Linked DNA regions of Homo sapiens: all the other regions are linked to region 6. Evidence: promoter capture Hi-C in 16 types of primary human blood cells and fetal thymus (Javierre and others, 2016). All regions are on one chromosome and are shown on one strand. Each heading gives the region's core, a stretch centred on a gene start or on the middle of the fragment in contact. The rest is flanking DNA. Distances are from core to core; before and after follow the strand shown.

The links. The method cuts DNA at HindIII sites, captures the fragments that hold promoters and counts their contacts. A CHiCAGO score of 5 or more calls a contact.
Region 1: a contact is called between a fragment that was not itself captured here and the fragment with the promoter of PABIR1 in region 6, in 3 of 17 cell types (total B cells, neutrophils and naive B cells). The highest score is 6.5, in total B cells.
Region 2: a fragment that was not itself captured here is called in contact with the fragment with the promoter of PABIR1 in region 6 in 3 of 17 cell types (total B cells, neutrophils and naive B cells); the score reaches 9.1 in total B cells.
Region 3: a fragment that was not itself captured here is called in contact with the fragment with the promoter of PABIR1 in region 6 in 2 of 17 cell types (naive B cells and total B cells); the score reaches 12.8 in naive B cells.
Region 4: a fragment that was not itself captured here is called in contact with the fragment with the promoter of PABIR1 in region 6 in 12 of 17 cell types (megakaryocytes, naive CD4 T cells, erythroblasts and 9 more); the score reaches 15.4 in megakaryocytes.
Region 5: a fragment that was not itself captured here is called in contact with the fragment with the promoter of PABIR1 in region 6 in 16 of 17 cell types (neutrophils, megakaryocytes, activated CD4 T cells and 13 more); the score reaches 14.1 in neutrophils.
Region 7: a contact is called between a fragment that was not itself captured here and the fragment with the promoter of PABIR1 in region 6, in 12 of 17 cell types (naive CD4 T cells, naive B cells, monocytes and 9 more). The highest score is 9.5, in naive CD4 T cells.

What each region holds. Positions count from the first base shown.
Region 1 is chr9:68,532,713-68,535,412 of GRCh38, forward strand. No RefSeq gene overlaps it. Among named protein-coding and RNA genes, the nearest start is that of TMEM252, 6.8 kb to the right of the region's middle. The HindIII fragment of the contact is 971 bases long and covers 862-1,832 here.
Region 2 is chr9:68,553,227-68,555,926 of GRCh38, forward strand. All of the region lies in intron 2 of TMEM252-DT (TMEM252 divergent transcript), which reads left to right. Among named protein-coding and RNA genes, the nearest start is that of LINC01506, 8.0 kb to the left of the region's middle. The HindIII fragment of the contact is 2,760 bases long and covers 1-2,700 here.
Region 3 is chr9:68,635,925-68,638,624 of GRCh38, forward strand. All of the region lies in intron 4 of TMEM252-DT (TMEM252 divergent transcript), which reads left to right. Among named protein-coding and RNA genes, the nearest start is that of PIP5K1B, 68 kb to the right of the region's middle. The HindIII fragment of the contact is 2,273 bases long and covers 203-2,475 here.
Region 4 is chr9:69,019,992-69,022,691 of GRCh38, forward strand. No RefSeq gene overlaps it. Among named protein-coding and RNA genes, the nearest start is that of PRKACG, 7.2 kb to the left of the region's middle. RefSeq lists a cis regulatory region at 575-1,080. The HindIII fragment of the contact is 1,530 bases long and covers 630-2,159 here.
Region 5 is chr9:68,983,145-68,985,844 of GRCh38, forward strand. All of the region lies in intron 14 of PIP5K1B (phosphatidylinositol-4-phosphate 5-kinase type 1 beta), which reads left to right. Among named protein-coding and RNA genes, the nearest start is that of PRKACG, 30 kb to the right of the region's middle. The HindIII fragment of the contact is 355 bases long and covers 1,119-1,473 here.
Region 6 is chr9:68,778,670-68,781,369 of GRCh38, forward strand. It overlaps PABIR1 (PP2A Aalpha (PPP2R1A) and B55A (PPP2R2A) interacting phosphatase regulator 1), which reads left to right and starts at 1,396. Exons shown (of 1, transcript NM_138333.5): 1 at 1,396-2,700. The coding sequence starts at 1,496. The coding sequence ends at 2,359. The region is part of intron 2 of PIP5K1B (phosphatidylinositol-4-phosphate 5-kinase type 1 beta); the gene reads left to right. RefSeq lists silencers at 885-1,299, 1,417-1,656 and an enhancer at 1,304-2,132. The HindIII fragment of the contact is 10,001 bases long and covers 1-2,700 here.
Region 7 is chr9:68,929,397-68,932,096 of GRCh38, forward strand. The region is part of intron 12 of PIP5K1B (phosphatidylinositol-4-phosphate 5-kinase type 1 beta); the gene reads left to right. Among named protein-coding and RNA genes, the nearest start is that of PRKACG, 83 kb to the right of the region's middle. RefSeq lists an enhancer at 2,635-2,700. The HindIII fragment of the contact is 1,133 bases long and covers 718-1,850 here.

The DNA of each region.
Region 1 (2,700 bases), core at 97-2,596, 250 kb before region 6:
AAAAGAGCTGTAGCCACTGTAGCCACTGATCTTTGAGAGTAAATGACTTGACCGGGCGCAGTGGCTCGTGCCTGTAATCCCATCACTTTGGGAGGCCGAGGCAGGCGGATCACGAGGTCAGGAGTTTGAGACCAGTCTGGCCAACATAGTGAAACTCTGTCTCTACTAAAAATACAAAAAATTAACTGAGTGTGGTGGTGTGTGCCTGTAATCCCAGCTACTCAGGAGGCTGAGGCAGGAGAATTGCGTGAACTCGGGAGACGGCAGTGAGCCGAGATCATGCCATTGCACTCCAGCCAAGGTGACAATGTGAGACTCCGTCTCAAAAAAAAAAAAAAAAAAAAAAAACAGGAAATGACTTTAAAGGCCCCAAATTTCATGGGAACTGCAAGAGTCAATCAGAGGAAACTATGGATAGAGTGTGGCAACTTCCAGGGCAACTCTGGTGATCTGCTGTTACAGAGGGGTTCACTCATTACAGCACGTGTCTGCAGAAAAATGGCAAGCAACACTATACATCACATGCTGGTTTTCAACCAGGGCGGGTATTTGGAAATGTGTGTGTATTTGCCAGAGAGGCATTTAGTGGCAGTAGTAGGAAACCAAACACGCTAAATATCCTTCCAGGTGTCAGCCAGTCCCCCAGAACAAAAATTTGTTTTGTGTCACCCAGGAATCTTGAGTTTATTCAATGTCCTTGAAAATGGATAGGCAGTCATTATTAAAATGAGATCGTTTGTCAACTTTTACTGATCTAAGTGCAGCATACATCCGCAGTATTTGCGGGACAAATCGTGTTGCATGACGTTATAGGTGGAAGGGCTTGCACGTGGCATGCAGGCTTTCTGCACAGGAAGTCGAAGCTTGATGCACGGTCTCATGGATCAGTGTAAGGCATGGGATTTACTTTGACGTTCAGATGGGTGTAGGGAATTTGAAAAGCACCTGCAGGAGCTGGTAATGACATAACTGTGTGACTCCATTCCATTGCTGGATCATGCACTGGATACTCTCAAAACATGTGGACACTGAAATCCCAGACACATGTCTTAAGGAGCTTCCCATCCCTGAGTGTAGAAGGGTCTGAGAAACGGTGTGCCTTTGGAAATAACGTAACTGCCAGTAAATCAGCCTTTGGCCCTTTGACAGTTACAAACAGCAAGAGATTATCCGAAGCAGCAGAGCTTAGCAGAATGCCTGTTCCACTCCAACCAGCTGGAGTCCTTACTAGAAGAAATAGCTCATGCAGCTGACAGCCCACTTGGTATGTGAGTCAGCCTAGGTTGTCATGGAACCTTGTAGAATTTGGAGAAGATATAGATTATAAGTCCATGTCTTTATCATCTTTCCATGCCTATCTGCACCTAATATGTGCCCTACAATGTAGGTGAGCTAGAGCAATGCCTCACCAAAGACAGTATATTTAAATAGAATCTTAAATGATAGACAGGAGTGTCAGTAAAAGCACTGGTAAGATTTTGCATGGAGGGTCGAAAATGAACACAGTACATCTCAGATATGCAAAAGACACAGTATAACTTAATCTATAATTGAGGATAACTGACCTTATCCTCACCTTCTGGAGTGGTGGTAAGGCCTACTCAAACTTTCTGCTCAAAGGGACATTATGAGATTACAATACTGGAGGGCCTTCAACCCTGAGAACTTCCCTTCCCCATTGACATATGAACCTACCATCCACAGGTGAGAGAAGAGAATGAGCAAAGACTCTTTGTAGTGGGGATTTTTCTCTTTTCACTTTCTTATGCTGCATGTGCTCTCCCTGTCATTCATGGAATTGCTGTTTCCAATCCTTGACCGTAAATTTTATAAGCTTCAGAAGGAAGAGCAGAGGCAGTATCTATTTATCTTGAGTGAATCCTCTAGGGGATGACTACTATATTATTATTATGAACCACAATCGGATATTTTTGTCTGATTTGTCCAGTGGATTTTAATTGCTGGGTCTCTCGAATGTAGAATTTGCTTTGTGTCCTACCCTTGTTCTCGACACATGATTCAGAGTACATATGCAGTCGCTGGAAACTGCTCTGATTCACATTGCCAAGATATTATTTCTGCCTTACATGAAATGTTAAAAAAATGAACAAATAACTACTGGTATTTTATTTTCAAAAAGACACACCCAAGTTATTTTCCAAATCAGCAGTTAGAGTTCAATAATGTTTGGGTTTGCAGAAAGATCAACTCATTCTGACACTGTGTTAGTTTAACCAGAGAATAATACTTTGACTTATGGTCTTTTATTGATTTTTTTTTCTGATGCAAAAAAAAAATGGCAAAAGAGAAATTTAAGTACAAAATTTATTGCGGTAAAGAGATTAAAACTATTTCTTATGTAAACCAAAATCAACATTTGTTTCACTTGACTACCAGTAGTTGGAAAAACTATCTATTACAAATGCAAATTCTGGACAAAAGACCAATGATGGTCCTTGTTCAAGTCAGTAAATGTGCTCAGACCACCAGGGAGAATTTCAGGATAACTGTCTTAGTAGAGAGATAGAAAGAGATGACAAGAGGAATAATAAATTACATTACTAATAAATGATCACTTCCCTATTGGACAACCATGAGTGACCTTCATATCTTTATGCCCTCAATGCCAAGGATTCAAATAACAGATTCCCAAATTCATGCTTCATGGACAAGGATTTCCTTTTATGAAGCTTCTTATGC
Region 2 (2,700 bases), core at 109-2,608, 230 kb before region 6:
CTTATTTTTTTCTCTTTCTTTTTTTTTTTTTCAATGCATCTGTTTATTTAATGTGAGTCACTAATGCCTAGCCCAAGAAGAAGCTGAATAATTCATGACCAATATTTTTTTCTCTGAATGAGACTTAGACATAAATTATTGTACCTTCATATACATATATAATGTTCATTATCTTTTTAAAAATCAATAGGGGCCCACATTTTTTAGTTTTTGAAAAATGGGTAGAAGAAGGAAGGAGGGAGAAAATTGCTGCTGATCTATAGGAAAGAATAGCAGGGTATATCTTGGTTTAAACTGAACTATGTACAGTTTCTCGTGTTTTTCACTTTTCACATGGTCCAATATGAAAAATACACCTAAAACAATCATAATAATTATGTACCAAGTACCAACATGTACCAGGCAATTTTACTTTTGCTATCTTTAATTATCACAACAATATTGCAGTGTAGGTAAGTTCCCTTTAAGACTGAAGGATGCTGAGTCCTAAGAGTATCAGTGACCTCCTCGAGGTCATTTAGAGCCACTTTACAAACCCATCCCTACTGGCTCTATGTCCTACACTCTTCACCTTACATCACAATGTCTCTCTGCACAGCTGATTTTAACATTTGCAATTTTACGTAATACATTTACAATTGATGATAAAATTATTAATTGCTACTTCTAATAGATTTGCAAAATATTTTAGATTCACAGTATTTATCAAACACCTGTCATTTACAAGTGTATGAATCAGGATGGGCTAGGATTTGCTTTGTAGCAAACAACCTCATATCTCCATGGTTTTAAATGACAAAAATGTATTCCTTGTTCTCTCACAGAGTCCATCATAGGTCAGCTAAATCTTTGCTCTAAGTTGACCTTTTCTTCACTTTAGGATGCAGCTGAGGGAGTAGCTATTTTCCTAAACACAAATAGTCACAATAGCCAAGAGAACAGATGACACTGAAGGGTCTTGCATTGACAATTAAAATTTTGGCCCACAGGTTTCACACATCGCTTTGTTATAACTCATTAGCAATAACTGGTCACATGTCCCCAACCAACCACAGGGGACCAAGAAGTGTAAATCTACTGTAGGCCCAGAAGATTCAAATAGCTAGAAATATTTGGTGGGCACCATTAATTCTACCTCACCAGGAATGTAACTAAGTGCTGGAGGGAACACAAAGAATGAGTTATGCTCTTTGTCCTTTGAAAACTTACCGTGAGCCATGCAAACAAGCAACCACAATGCAAAGCAGGTAAGAGTGCAACTGTAGTAAAAGCACCATGTTCAAGGAAGACAGAGGAAAGAATGATTAATTTAAAATGGTGAGACTCCAGAATCCTTTGCAGAGAATACTACAGATGCATTCCTAAAGTTTAAAGGGTTTTAAAGCATCAAAAGGTATTTTAGGGAGAAAAGTACTTAAACTAAGGGAACTGCATGAAAGGGTCTGGTGAGTTCAAGGCAAAGATGAGTAGACTGATGGGACAGGACCAGCAGGTAAATGAGACTAGGAATGAAACGAGAGACTGAAAAGTCATCTGGGGACAGAGTATAAAAGTCTGAATGCCACACAAGGAAACAGTGCCCTTTATATTGAAATTGCTACATTTTATTAGAGCTAAATCAGAAATGTTCTTGTCTCAAATTGATTAATGTTTCCATCTTGACACATTTATGTTTTTTTAGAAGAATATATTCTCATGTTAAGTAGAGTAAAATAACAAGATTGTCAGAACAGAGTATCTGGTACATAACAGGTAATCAATAAATATGAATGAATGTATGGGTAGGAAGAAAGTCAAGGAAGGCATTATATATTAATCCTTTCATAATTTATCAAATTCTGAGTATGCACAACTGATTTTTTTAAATAAAGAAAGAGCATATATTACTGAAGAGAACTGGTTGGGTGATGCCTCAGTAAAATGTTATCTAATTCTACATGTTTAATTACTTCTCTTTCTTCCTTTCTTGAGCCTCAGGTATGTGAATGATTTTAACATTCCCTCTTAGGTTTGGTCCTCCCATTCTTTAAGCAAATTTGTTCTTCTCTGAAAATTTCCTAGGCTCTCTGTTTGTCTCTTTAAGCCTCAGAGCCTCAAACACTGGAGAGAACTTGCTGCATGCGAGCTTATTCTAATACTTAATATTTTCTGGGGCCTCAGGGTGAGGGTTGCCTCACAGTCCCTGTGTATAGAAGTTCTAATCTAGAGCATGCAATCTTGTGCACTAAGTAAAAGCAGCTATACTAAAAAATAAAAAAAAAAAATTAAAAACAAGCCAACAAAACCCCAAACCCCACCTAGAGTTGTTAAATACAGAACTTTTCAGCAGCCAAGTGACCCTGTCAGCCCTTAGCTAGAATTTCATGCCTCCCAGGAACAGGGTAATTGAAAGGAACAATGCTGATGGCTTGGGCTAGTCACAGCTGGAAGGTTGCTGCCTTTACACTAAGACTCTGTTCTGCCTCCTTCTGTGGAAAATGAAAGAGGACTTGTTAATGGAGCAAAACCTTGCAAAGCATGTGTGGTGCTGTGGGATTTGTGATGGAAGTACAAGTGGGAGAAGGAATGGACAAACAGCAGGGTGACCTGAGTCAACATAGCAGACACCATGGGCCCCCTTGCCATCTAGGCCAGGGCTTCTCACACATGGCCACATGGATCATTTGGGGAATCTCAAGAAAGTGCAGACTCTGATTCAGC
Region 3 (2,700 bases), core at 89-2,588, 140 kb before region 6:
CTCTCCCCCGATTCCCTACGCTCCAGCCCCACTGCTTGTTTCTCAAACTTGCCAAACTTTTTACACCTCCAGAATTTTGCAAATGCTGTTCCTTATTCCAGAAATGCATTCCTGCTCTCCTCTCTTCTCTTTGCTTCATTCTTTACCCAACTGGGTCCCTGGTATCTGCCAAGTCTTGGCATAAATATTCTTCCCTCATAGAAGCTTTGACTGACCACCCAAAACAAAGGGGCTTTTCTCCACCTACCATTATTCCCGCTCCTTCTATCTATCATGATTCAGAACCATATCTGCATGTTTCACACACATCTCCAGAGGCTGCTCACTGCAGCACTGTGCGTGGAGCACTCAGTACAGTGTTTGGACATTGTCAGAGCTCAAAGATATCTGTTGAATACATAAATGAATACCAAAAAAACTCCACTGCTTTAAAGAAGTTTGTGTGGATACCTTTTATAATTAAAATAACATCTCCCCATCTGTCTTGAAAGTTTAGTTAAACTTGATTAGGATTTAATGAAGAGAAATATTTATATATTGAATGCTACCTGAGGCAAAGAAATAAAATAAAATTCCTCTCTTTATCTCAGAAATCCCTGAACTTAGTCTCTTCTAAAACTAACCTAGATAAAACTCAGTGTGATCATTTATGTCAACAGGGGTGGAGAGACGAAAGCTCTTTGAAAAAGTGAAACTGATATTAAAATGCAAAATTTTAATTCCTAAAAGCATCATTGACCTAAATAATCTAACAAGTTGCTCAGGGAGAAAAAAATAGGAATCAGCTTTGATTTTTCCCCACCCCTTCCAATCTCTCTGCCATCCTTATGAGCTGTACTTCCAAACACAGCTCAGCTTCACCTCTTGCCTCTTCCCCTTTTGCCCAAGATTGTGTCAATCCAAGCTGCTGAATGCGTAATGAAGCTGTCTGTCTAAGAAGCACAGTTACTTGTTTAGTTAGAAATGTAATTTTTGTTTTGGGGTTTTATTTGGGAGGGATTTTTTGCCAAGTGGTAGAATTTGAAAGTGTTTTCCCTATAGGAGGCAGATTCGGAAGTCTGGCCTACGACTCTTTTGGAAGCTGAAACTAATTAAAATATTCATTTTTCGCCTCTGTAGCTAAGACCCGGCAGGGGAGATAGCATTTGTTTTATGAAGGTGTAACTATATCCACTAACCTCTTGTGTGCCACATTCGGCATCTGCCCCAAGGCTGCCACACCTGCTCAAACACCTGCCCAGTATGTGAGTATTTGGTAGAACAGTTTTTAATGGCTTACCTAAGGGCACCTAGGGTCACCCACCTTTACCTGAGGACAATAGAGTCTTGTTCCACATATTTATTACCTATACACTCACCTCTGAGTGAAGTACTTTCCTGGTTTCACCTTCAGTGAGATCTGAAAAGCTATGCAAAAGACAAATAGAAAAAGAGAAAGAGAAAGAGAAGTTAAAAAATAGTTGTGTGTCATTAAAAAAAAAAAAAAAAATCACTGACCGGGCATGGTAGCTCACACCTGCAATGCCAGCACTTTGAGAGGCTGAGGCAGGCAGATCACAAGGTCAAGAGATTGAGACCAGCTTGGCAAACATGGTGAAACTCCATCTCTACTAAAAATACAAAAATTGGCTGGGCGCGGTGGCGCATGCCTGTAATCCCAGCTACTCAGGAGGCTGAGGTAGGAGAGTCGCTTGAACCCAGGAGGCAAAGGTTGTAGTGGACTGAGATCACGCTACTGCACTCCAGCCTGGTGACAGAGTGAGACTCTGTCTCAAAAAAAAAATCACAGAGGTTGAGAAAGATACGAGAATATGTTAAGTGTCCTCCGTGCTTCCAGAGTGTCTACAGAATCCTCAAAGAAGTGTAAAGCCATAAACCAAGACAGAGCCAATTTCAGCATTCACTGTTTTTGAATGGCAAAAACTAATAATGATGCTTCTTCTGAATACTCAGTATGTCCAAGGACAGGCTAGATGTTTTACTTACATTATCACATTACTTCTCCCTACTCTCTACCATAGGAGACAGTATGAATATTTATGAATATTTTGTTATATTTATTTAATATTCATTAAATATTTATGAATGCTTTGCAAATGAGGAAACTGGAGCTCCAAGAAGTCCAGTGACTTGGGAAGTAGTAATGCATGGGCTAAGAGCAGACTTGGAGGTCACATCATCTGTGCTGGGGTCCCAGCTCTGCTATTGACCAGCAGTGTGACTTTAGACAAATTACTTAATCTCACTAAGCCTCTGTTTTGTCACAAAAGGGCAGTGGTAATAGGTAATGACCCACCTTACTTGTGAAGATGCAATGACTTAACACACACCCAATGCCTGGCACATCATCTAACACATCACCTAGCACACAAGACATGCTGAACCAAGGTTTGCTATCATCCTCCTCAAAGATCACACACAGCTAGAGGGTTGAGAGCAAGGCTGCCAACCCTGGTTGTTTTATTCTGCTCATAAAGCTTCTGTATCTTCCACTTGCAAAAACTAAATTCAGAGAAAAATAATTGGAAATAGAAAAGGGTGGTCAAAGAGAACACCAGAACCAGAAGGAGGCGAAGACCAGTTCCTTCTGTATCTGGAACTTGCCCTATATGGGTCCTTTGCCTCCTATACCAGGCTCTGGAGGAAAATCTGTTTGGTGAGCTAAGAAGTATTTTTTTTTCTAATCAAGAGAAGTCTCTA
Region 4 (2,700 bases), core at 145-2,644, 240 kb after region 6:
CACTTCACAGCCCTTCCTGCCCCACCCAACTATCACCACTGCACAGAGCTAATGACAGTTGCTGCTTATCATCCTGTTGGCTCTGTGGGTTTTTTTTTTTTTTTTTACATTAGCGTTAAAAGTAAAATAGTGCTTATGCCATGTCTCCAGCAGAGCAAGAAAGAAAAAGGCAGCCCAGGAAGGCTAAGTGTTCCATAGGGCACTCATTTCTGGCACCTGCCTGGCCCCTGCAGCATTTGGGTGCATGCCCTTGATTTAAATCGATTAATGTTTTCCCAGAAGGAGCCCCAAAATGCTTTATAGCCTATAGAACAAAGAGCTGAGAAGTGAGAGGTCCCAATTCAATTATCTTAATAATTAGAGAGCTCTTGAAGACAAAAGAAAGCTATACAAATACAGCAAGGAAAAGGGGGTATCCAGTGACCAGTTCCATAATTCAGGAAATGCAGGAGATTTGAAGAGTTTGTATGCATTATAAGGGACAAAGAGGGCTGGAGCTGAACCTGAACTGTGAGGGATGGAAGTGCCTAACCTGGAGTTAAAAAAGAATAAGAAGATTGCAACCCTAGGGGTAAACTGCAGACCTTTCAGAACTGCAGAACCCCAGGAGCTAGGGCCCAATGCATCCAAGCTTGAGTCTGTTTGAGAATCTCCCTTTTTCAGCCTCTCCAACACTGTACTAGATGAGGACATCTGGCCTCTGGGTCTGTACATACTGTCCCCTCTGCTATGCTCTTTCCTCCTTGCCCTCTTTCACCTGGCCAACTCTTCATCTCTCTGATCTCAGAAACTCATGCTGTCACCACCCCCACCAAGTCAAGACCAGGCCACTCTCATATGCTCCTGTAGTATCCTATAATTACCCCATCTAGCACTTATGTGACTTTGTAAATACTTTTACGTTATCATCTCTCTCCGCAAGACTGTGAGCTCCATGAGAACATGTTGATTATCAATCTTTGTTACCACTATATCATCAGCAACCACAGTGCCTGGAACTGTGGACGCTCAACAAACAATGATGGATGGATGCCGGGCGCGGTGGTGGCTCATGCCTGTAATTCCAGCACTTTGGGAGGCTGAGGCGGGCAGATCATGAGGTCAAGAGATCGAGACCATCCTGGCCAACATGGTGAAACCCCATCTCTACTAAAAATACAAAAATTAGCCGGGCGTGGTGGTGCACGTCTGTAGTCCCAGCTACTGCGGAGGCTAAGGCAGGAGAATTGCTTGAATCCAGGAGGTGGAGGTTGCAGTGAGCCAAGATCGCGCCACTGCACTCCAGCCTGGAAACAGAGCAAGACTCCGTCTCACAACAACAACAACAACAACAAAAACAATGATGGATGGGTTTGTAAACCAAAACTAAAATTCAAAGCCCCCCAACTGACTAAATGGACCCCCCTCTTAGCCAAGGGGAGTCCAAAGAAACCTGCAAAACTAGTTCAGGCCACTCCAGGAAGGGGTAGGGGTCAGACATGCCTCATTATACCCTCTCCCTTTTGTAGTTTGTAACCGCCCAATGGGATCACCTTGCCCAATGCCTAGACAGAGCCGATTTATCAAGACAGGGGAATCGCAATAGAGAAAGAGTAATTCACACAGAGCCAGATGTATGGGAGACTAGAGTTTTATTAGTACTCAAATCAGTCTCCCTAAGAATCGGGGATCAGAGTATTTAAGGATAATTTGGTGGGCACAGGCCAGTGAGTCGGGAGTGCTGATTGGTCAGGTCAGAGATGAAATCAGGGAATCAAAGGTGTCCTCTTGTGCGGAGTCAGTTCCTGCTGGGGGGTACACAAGATCAGATGAGCCAGTTGATTGGTCTGGGTGGTGCCAGCTGATCCACTGAGTGCAGGGTCTGCAAAATATCTCAAGCCCTGATCTTAGATTTTACAATAGTGATGTTATCCCCAGGAGCAATTTGGGGAGGTTCAGAATCTGGCCGCCTTCAGTTGCATGACTCCTAAACCATAATTTCTAATCTTGTGGCTAATGTGTTGGTTCTGTAAAGGCAGTCTAGTCCCCAGGCAGGAAGGGGGTTTGTTTTGGGAAAGGGCTGTTATCGTCCTTGTTTCAAAGTTAAACTATAAACTAAGTTCCTCCCAAAGTTAGTTCCAGAATATGTTTCCTTGCTATATTTTGAAATGGCCCTGCAAAGCTTTCTTTTGTGGGGGAGAATTTACATCTGTAAAAAAATCTTTTTTTTTTTTTTTTGAGACAGAGTCTCACTTTGTCGCCCAGGTTGGAGTGCAGTGGCGCAATCTCGGCTCACTGCAACCTCTGCCTCCCAGGTTCAAGCGCTTCTCCTGCCTCAGCCTCCCGAGTAGGTGGGACTACAGGTGCATGCCACCACGCCCGGCTAATTTTTTTTTCTTTTTTGTATTTTTAGTAGAGGCGGGTTTTCACCCTGTTAGCCAGGATGGTCTTGATCTCCTGACCTTGTGATCCACCTTCCTCGGCCTCCCAAAGTGCTGGGATTACAGGCATGAGCCACTGTGCCCGGCCCAAAAATCTCTTTTAACATAAGTGGATCTTTCCTTTTCCAGGCCCTCCAAATCCCTGAAGAGATTAACTGAGAGTCTAATACCTACCTTTTAAAGGTCTGCATAGGAAATATTTGCATCTATAATCTCTAAGCTACCTATGAGACTTGATCTATACAATAAGAACCTTGGTCTCCACAACCCCTTATCTTAA
Region 5 (2,700 bases), core at 46-2,545, 200 kb after region 6:
CTATAGCACTTGCAAAGGTCAAAACTGGTTTTTGAATGGCAGAAAATCAGCTCTACAGCCCTCAGCTGACTACCCACCTCCAGCCTTTAAAAGAGGTTATTGAGGCCAAGAAAAGAGTGGCAGTTAGAATGTGATCTTTAGAGAGAACTGTTGATCAGAGGTGTCTGTCCCCACCCAGGGACACTTGGGAGGGCTTGATAAGTGTCCTGTGGAGGATGTGGCTCATGCCTGAGATCCTATGATGGCAGAGCAAGGAGAGTTTGCTGTTTGGAGTTGGCTTCTGCTACTCACTTCCTATCTTTTTTCTGTGTGTGTGTTTTTTTTTTCTCCTTAGCACTTTTGACCAACATAATACATATTTTAAATACTTATCTCATTGTCTGTCTTCTTTAATACTATGTAAGTTCCATCAGGCACAGACTTTTAAAATTTGATCTCTGTATTCTAGGTGCTAGAATCCATTCTAGGTGCAGTGTGCATACATGGATACTCAATAACTATTTGCAGCTGGGAGCAGTAGTAGCTCATGCCTGTAATGGCAGTGCATTACAGGCCTGTGTGGCTTGTTGCAAATTGTGTGCAATTAGCCCTCAGACAGTCTGAATCGAGAGAACTGTGGCAAAACTTAATGGTGCAGCACATCGGCAGGCAGCCAGACTCTTAAACTCTTGGCCTTTGGGATGATAACTTGAGCCCAGGAGTTTGACACCAGCCTTGGCAATATAGGGAGACCTCATCTCTACCAAAAAAATTTTAAAAAGAAACACCAGGCATGGTGGCACATGCCTTTAGTCCCAGCTACTTGGGGGCTGAGGCAGGAGGATCATTTGAGCTCAGGAGTCCAAGGCTGCAGCAAGCCAAGATTGCAACACTGCACTCCAGCCTGGATGACAGAGCAATACCCTGTCTCTAAAAAATACAAATTAAATAACTAAATATTTGCATCCTACATTCATTACCACAAATCACTCCAACAACCCTACTCGTTCTGTATTATTATTCTCATTTTACATATGGGAAACTGGAGCTCTTACTCAGAAGGGTTAAGAAACTTACCCAGTATCACATACAACTAAGTCCAAGAGCCAGAATTGAAAGTCAGATTCATCTGATTCCAAAGCTTATGCTCTGCCTGTTAATGCTTTCTCAGCTCAGGTGCCTGTTTCCTGAAAATGTATTCTCATCCTTTTTTGGGTGCTAGGTAGTATCTAATCTAAGATTTTTAGGCAAGTAACATGCCATTCTGTGCTGTGGTCTCACTTGGTAGATCCTGCATAATGAGGATAACAAATAGAAAGATTAATTAATTGGTTATGTAGCTTACACTCAATACCAAGACAATAATAATTTCAGATTATTCAGAATACATTTAATGGTACTTTACTGTATAAATGCCTGATTATTCATTTAGGGCTGTATATTCTCCCAAATTCTTTTATATGTATAATTTGGTTTAAATATTAAATTGTTGGAAGCTTAAGTAGCATTATTTTCATTGTTCAATCTTAATATCCATTGTTTTAAATATGTTGTTTTAGAAAGCATATTTTGCTTACTTTTCCTCAAAACTTTCTGTTCATTGTTACTCTTCCCAAAAGAACAAAGATCTCCACAGCTAACACCAAACATCATATACCATATTTGTTTTTGTGGGTATTCTGTAATTATTTTCAAGCTCCTAGGCACATTTGCGTACACTACTTTTGTTTCTGCAATGACAAATTTCTAAAATGTTAGCAGCAATGACTGTAAAAAAGGGTAGTTAATTGGAAAAGAGTTCAGATCCTAACTCTGTTTAGGGACCATGTAACCCAGGCAAGCCGCTGCACCTCCCTGGGCCTCATCCTGGAAGTAGAGATGTTGGGCAGACACATGGGGAGGGATTGCGTGTATGAGTGTAACAGGCTGGGTGGGATGCTCGAGTGAGGTGGGGACCCTGCAGCAATGCAGAGGACATGCTCGGTCTAAGGAAGGCAGCTGCAATCTCACTGCTACTCAGAAATGTAGGCTTACAGTTGGCCACTCTTCTCATGTCTCAAAAGAAACTGGGTTTTTGTGGGAATTTCCTTTTCCTCAATTTGGCAATAATTCAAACTAAAATCTCTTCTTCTTTTTTTTTTTTTTTGAGACAGAGTCTCACTCTGTCGCCCAGGCTGGAGTGCAATGGTGCGATCTCGGCTCACTGCCACCTCCGTCTTCCGGATTCAAGCAATTCTCCTGCCTCAGCCTCCCAAGTAACTGGGATTACAGGCTCCCACCACCACGCCTGGCTAATTTTTGTATTTTTAGTAGAGACAGGATTTTGCCATGTTGGCCAGGATGGTCTTGAACTCCTGACCTCAGGCGATCCACCTGCCTCGGCCTCCCAAAGTGCTGGGATTACAGGCATGAGCCACCACACCTGGCCAACAGATCTCTTCTTCAAAACAGTTCTTCCAGCCAGACTGGGTTTGTGGGACAGCAGTGTGTAACCTCTGGGCAGGACATCCCCAGGATGGAGGTGCTCTGGCCCATGCCTGCACTATACCAGCATGTGCCCTGGGACATTGCAGATGGCTCCCCAGGCCTCCACGGGCCTGCACTCACAGTCTCTTCACCAGAGAGCTCGAAATCTCAGAACCCAACTCTCTCATGTCATCAAGCCAGAGACATGAGTCTGCTTTTCTGTCTCCTTAGATTTGTCTGTTCTTAGACATTTTG
Region 6 (2,700 bases), core at 146-2,645:
GTTTTCCACAGAGCCTAAGTGATATTTAAAACATAAACCAGATAATATCAGTCCCCTGCTTAAAACCCTCCAGTGGCGTTTCATCATATTCAGAATGAGATCCAACTCTTACCCTCTCCTAACACTCCCGCTCTTATGCTTCAGCGGCACTGCCCTTTTTTCTTTTTCTGCTAACTCATCAAACTCATGGCTGCCTCCGGCCTTAGCACTTGCTATTCTCTCTGCTTGGAATACTCATTCCCCAGATGTCCACGTGACTTACTGCTTCTTGTCATTTAGATCTCAACTCTAATTGTCCCCTGACTTCTATCAGTAGTGCTCCATCACACCATCTTACTTTTCCTAAGGCTTACCACTATCTGAAAATAGCCTGCGTTTCTCTATTTTCCCCTCAGTAAGAATTAAAAGTTCATACTAGGGCCCATTTCCTAGCAGTGTTTGGCACATAGTAAGTATGCTGAAAAAAAAAAACCTTGACTGACTGAATAAATGAACAAATAAACTCACTTTTAATGAGATATCAAGGTTTTATATTAATTACATGAGCCAAGAATTGTGGTTTCATTTTTAAAATGTGAGGACCTACTGGTTTAATCCTTCATACTTCACACATATGCTTGTGCTGGAACTATGACTGTAAATCAATAGCAATACCATCCTCTGTTTTGGCTTCTTCCCCTAACCTAAATAGTTCTCAGATTTACTTTTCTCTCCATCTCCACTGCCACACTGTCACCTTAGTGCAAATGACCATCCTCTCTGGCCTTTTTTCTGTAAGGTTTTAATCTCCCAATATGTATTCTCCAGACTGCAGGCCAGTGAGCTTTTCAGTTGCTGTTACACCCATGCTTGAAAACCCTTTAAGTTTTCATTGTTCTCAAGATAAAGACCAGAATGTGGTCTGGTCCACCACCTCACGTCAGGCCAGCCCTCACTCTCCACTCCAGGCCACACTTTCTCCTCCCCTCCTGGTTCCCGCCTGCCAACTGGCTGGGTAGCCGTTGCTTCCCGCTTCCTGCAAAGTTCTACATCGCACCCATTTCGCCCACTTCTTCAGATTTCAGGAGATTGTTCCTTCCTCGAGGAAGCCCTCCCTGATTAGGCCAAGCGCCACTCCACGTCATACAGCCCCACATCACCATGGGCCTCTCTTTCAGGGCTTTGTTTTATGAGTATGCAATCCAGAATATGACAATCTTATTGACATGCGTCAACGCGAGCTTGCGCTCAATAGCTATTTGCCGAAGGAATATACGGACTAGCGGCCCGACCACTCCTCGCCCCTCCCCTACCACTGCCGCGCACATATTACGCATTAAGCAGGCGCCGCGAGTACGGACATCGCGAGCGCCTGCGCGAAGGGCTACGCATGCGCAGAGGGGCCAGCCCGCTGACAGATTCTCGGTGGCGGCGGCAGCGGCGGCGGCCCTGGACTGCGGGGAATGGGAATCCTAGGTCCCTGACTGAGCACCTCCCCCGCCTCCCTGCCCCCGACATGGCTCAGGAGAAGATGGAGCTAGACCTGGAGCTGCCTCCGGGTACGGGCGGGAGCCCGGCGGAGGGCGGTGGCAGCGGCGGCGGCGGGGGCCTCAGGAGGTCTAACAGCGCCCCCCTGATCCACGGCCTCAGTGACACTTCGCCGGTGTTCCAGGCCGAGGCGCCGAGCGCCAGGCGGAACAGCACAACGTTCCCGAGCCGCCACGGCCTGCTGCTGCCGGCCTCCCCTGTCCGCATGCACAGCAGCCGCTTGCACCAGATCAAACAAGAAGAGGGCATGGACTTGATCAACCGAGAGACGGTCCACGAACGGGAGGTGCAGACCGCAATGCAGATAAGCCACTCCTGGGAGGAAAGTTTCAGCCTGAGTGACAACGACGTGGAGAAATCCGCCTCCCCCAAGCGCATCGATTTCATTCCTGTGTCACCAGCACCGTCACCCACTCGGGGAATTGGGAAGCAGTGTTTTTCGCCATCCTTGCAAAGTTTTGTAAGTAGCAACGGATTGCCTCCAAGCCCTATTCCCAGCCCAACGACCCGATTTACCACCCGGAGAAGCCAGAGCCCCATCAATTGCATTAGACCAAGTGTTCTTGGACCATTGAAAAGAAAATGTGAAATGGAAACTGAATATCAGCCAAAGAGATTTTTCCAGGGCATCACCAACATGCTTTCTTCTGACGTTGCACAGCTGTCAGATCCTGGTGTGTGTGTATCTTCGGATACCCTTGATGGAAACAGCAGCAGTGCCGGATCTTCTTGTAACTCACCAGCGAAAGTCAGCACTACCACCGACTCTCCTGTGTCACCTGCCCAAGCGGCTTCTCCATTTATTCCACTAGATGAACTTTCGTCTAAGTGATTCACTCATCCTGAGACTTTCTTTTTGCAGTGGAGAGAGAGAATAATCTAGTTGGGGCAAACACTGAACTTTGTCAATTAATTTGAGGCTATTTCCTATTTGACCCCTTTTCTTTTTTGAAATTCCCTGAAATGATGTTATTCTAGAGAACTTCTATGTCAGGTTCCTTTGGATACCCTTGAATTCAGTGTAGTAATATTTTCAGACGTTTCCCCAATAAGTGTGTTGAAGCATACATCTTTACGCTGCTAATATGTCTAAATACATATGTTATCCCTTGATTTTTTTAAATAACTGAGAGCTCTATTTATTTATGGGATTATTAAGTTCTGATGAAAATA
Region 7 (2,700 bases), core at 34-2,533, 150 kb after region 6:
CCTTCTATCTGCTCATTCTCATATATCATAGAAACAAACCTCCTCAACGATCTGTCTCTCTTCAGTTCCTGGTGTATCTTTTTCCTCCTTCACTGTCACCCTATTGGAGATGAGAGTTGGATGTACTTGCTGTCTCACTTTTTTTATTTCTTGTCACTATTCAGTGTTCTCCAGTGGCTTTTGATCCCACCACTCTACCAAAATGTTCTTTTTGAAGTAATCAACAATCATTGCTCAAGCCATTGAACAACTTTCAGTTTTTTTTGTTTTTGTTTTTGTTTTTGTTTTTTTGAGATGGAGTCTCACTCTGTTGCCCAGGCTGGAGTACAGTGGCACTATCTCAGCTCACTGCAACCTCTGCCTCCCAGGTTCAAGTGATTCTCCTGCCTCAGCCTCCAGAGTAACTGGGACCACAGGCATGCGCCACCACACCCAGCTAATGTTTGTATTTTTAGTAGAGACAGGGTTTTGCCATGTTGGCCAGGCTGGTCTTGAACTCCTGACCTCAAGTGATCCACCCACCTTGGCCTCCCAAAGTGCTGGGATTACAGGTGTGAGCCACCGCACCCAGCCTCTTTCAGTCTTCTTAAAACTCTCCAGCATGTGAGACCACTGATAGCAGTTCTCTGTGAAATAACGCTCTTCGCTTGTCTTTCGTAACTCAGGACTTCCCTGGTTGCCTTCCAGCCTCTCTTCTCCTCCTTGGTATCCTTTGGAAGCTTTTCATCCCTGCTTACTCTTATTGTGGTTGCTCCTCAGGGTCCAGGCTCTGACTCGGTCTCTTCTTATACAGCACTCTGGGTAATTCCCTGTTCTCCCAAGGGTTCAGTTACCATCTGTGTACTTGCAACTTACTCCCCACACTTCTAGCAATTCCCCTTGCCTGTCCACTCCCCAAACTTAAGCATCCACTAGATTCCACAAGCTCAGCATGCCCAAAATTGAATTTAGCCACTTACCACCCCAGAGTCTGCCTCTCTACCTGGGTCCACGTCTTATGGAAGACCACCACAATCCACCCAATTACCCAGCCAGAATGCTGCCATCATCCCTTGACCCCTTCCTTCTGCTTACCACCCACGTGCAGTTACTCAGCAACACCTATCAGTCCTCACTCTGCAGTATCAGGATTGCAGCCCCTTCTCTCACAGTACCTCTCCTGATTCAGCCACTGTGTTTTTTGGTTTGCAGGTTTTATTATTATTTTTTTTTTTGCATAAAGTTGTGGCCCCAAACAGGTCTCTTTGCCTCCCATCATGTACCCATTCAATCCAATTTCCACACACACACACTGCAGCTAGAGGAATCAGTTTAAAATATAAATCTGCTCTTGCTGATTTCTGTTAAAACCCTTCCATGCTAATAATAATAATAATAATAATGCTAAAGGAAATAAACGTCCATGGATTCCCTGGTGCCCAAAGTCCTTAACTTTCACTTAACACATTTCCTGGCACACAGTAGACACTCAATGGTTATTTGATGAATAATGCAATGAATGAATGGAATTTTTATCTAACACCACCATTTCAAAGGGTAATTAAATTATTAGAAAAGTAGACACTTGAGTTAACTTTAAGATGTTCCATCAACCATGGTTAATTTAAAGCCCTTAATGCCTAAAGGCATACTCCCCTCCCACCAAGAAAATAGTACCTGGTCTTCAAGTTTCTTTTTTGAAGTCAGTGTTTTTTAACCTTTTTAAATCCCTTCATCCCACCCACAAGTGAGTCATGCTGCCGGTGTAATAATGTCTACAAAATCCTATAATATTTCCTGGAAATATTAGCCACCATTATGTTGAAACTTCACTGAAATTCTCCATACGAATAATTTGTCTAAAGTACTAAAGCTTAGTTTCCTGAATAGAATATAAGAGTTAAATTAATTTGTTAGAGAAAATTAACTGTTCTAAAACTTCAGAACAATAATGCATTCATGAACAAACACTCGTGCACCTATTATGTATCTAGCACTACACTAAGCACTGATGATATAGAAAGCTTTTTAAATATTGATTAGTTCCTCCCTCAATAATTTAATAGTCTCTTTTGAGCCGGAGATTGAAACATGTGACAGATCTGTAATGAAACAATTGCTAATATTTCTGCATATGCTACTATGGGTACGCGGAGAGAAATAAGAGAAAAAAAGACCAATTCTTCCAAAAGAGAGCTCACAGAGAAAAAGATATTTCAACTAAATCCTGAAAATGTAACCCAGAGTTCATTAAGAAGAGAGACAGGAAGGGCATCTCAAGGAGAAAGAACAGCATGTGCAAAGGCCTAAGGGCAGAATGAACATGGTAGGTTCCAATATGGCAGAAGGGTGAGCTGAAAAGTGAACATGGAGGCAGTCGAGTGGCAGAATGCAAGGCTAGAAATGGACACAGGATACCTACTGCCAGCCATGGTTGAGCCAAAGACAAATCTAGGCGTTTCTGCCACACAAAAGGAAGCAACCAGCCACCCAAACCAGCTCTCAATGTTACCCAGTCAAAAGAGATCCTGAGAATTAAATTTCTGCAAAATCCAAGCTCTTATCTGCTGAGTGAGATCATTCCTTTAAGGAAGAAACTCACCACTTGAGACAAAAGTGAACTCTTTGTTGTGGTGCTATGTGGTCTTGGCAGAGGTTTGTTTTCCGGTCTTCTCTGCTCCTCATTATACGTGATGCTGATAAAGAACAAAGAGTTACTTC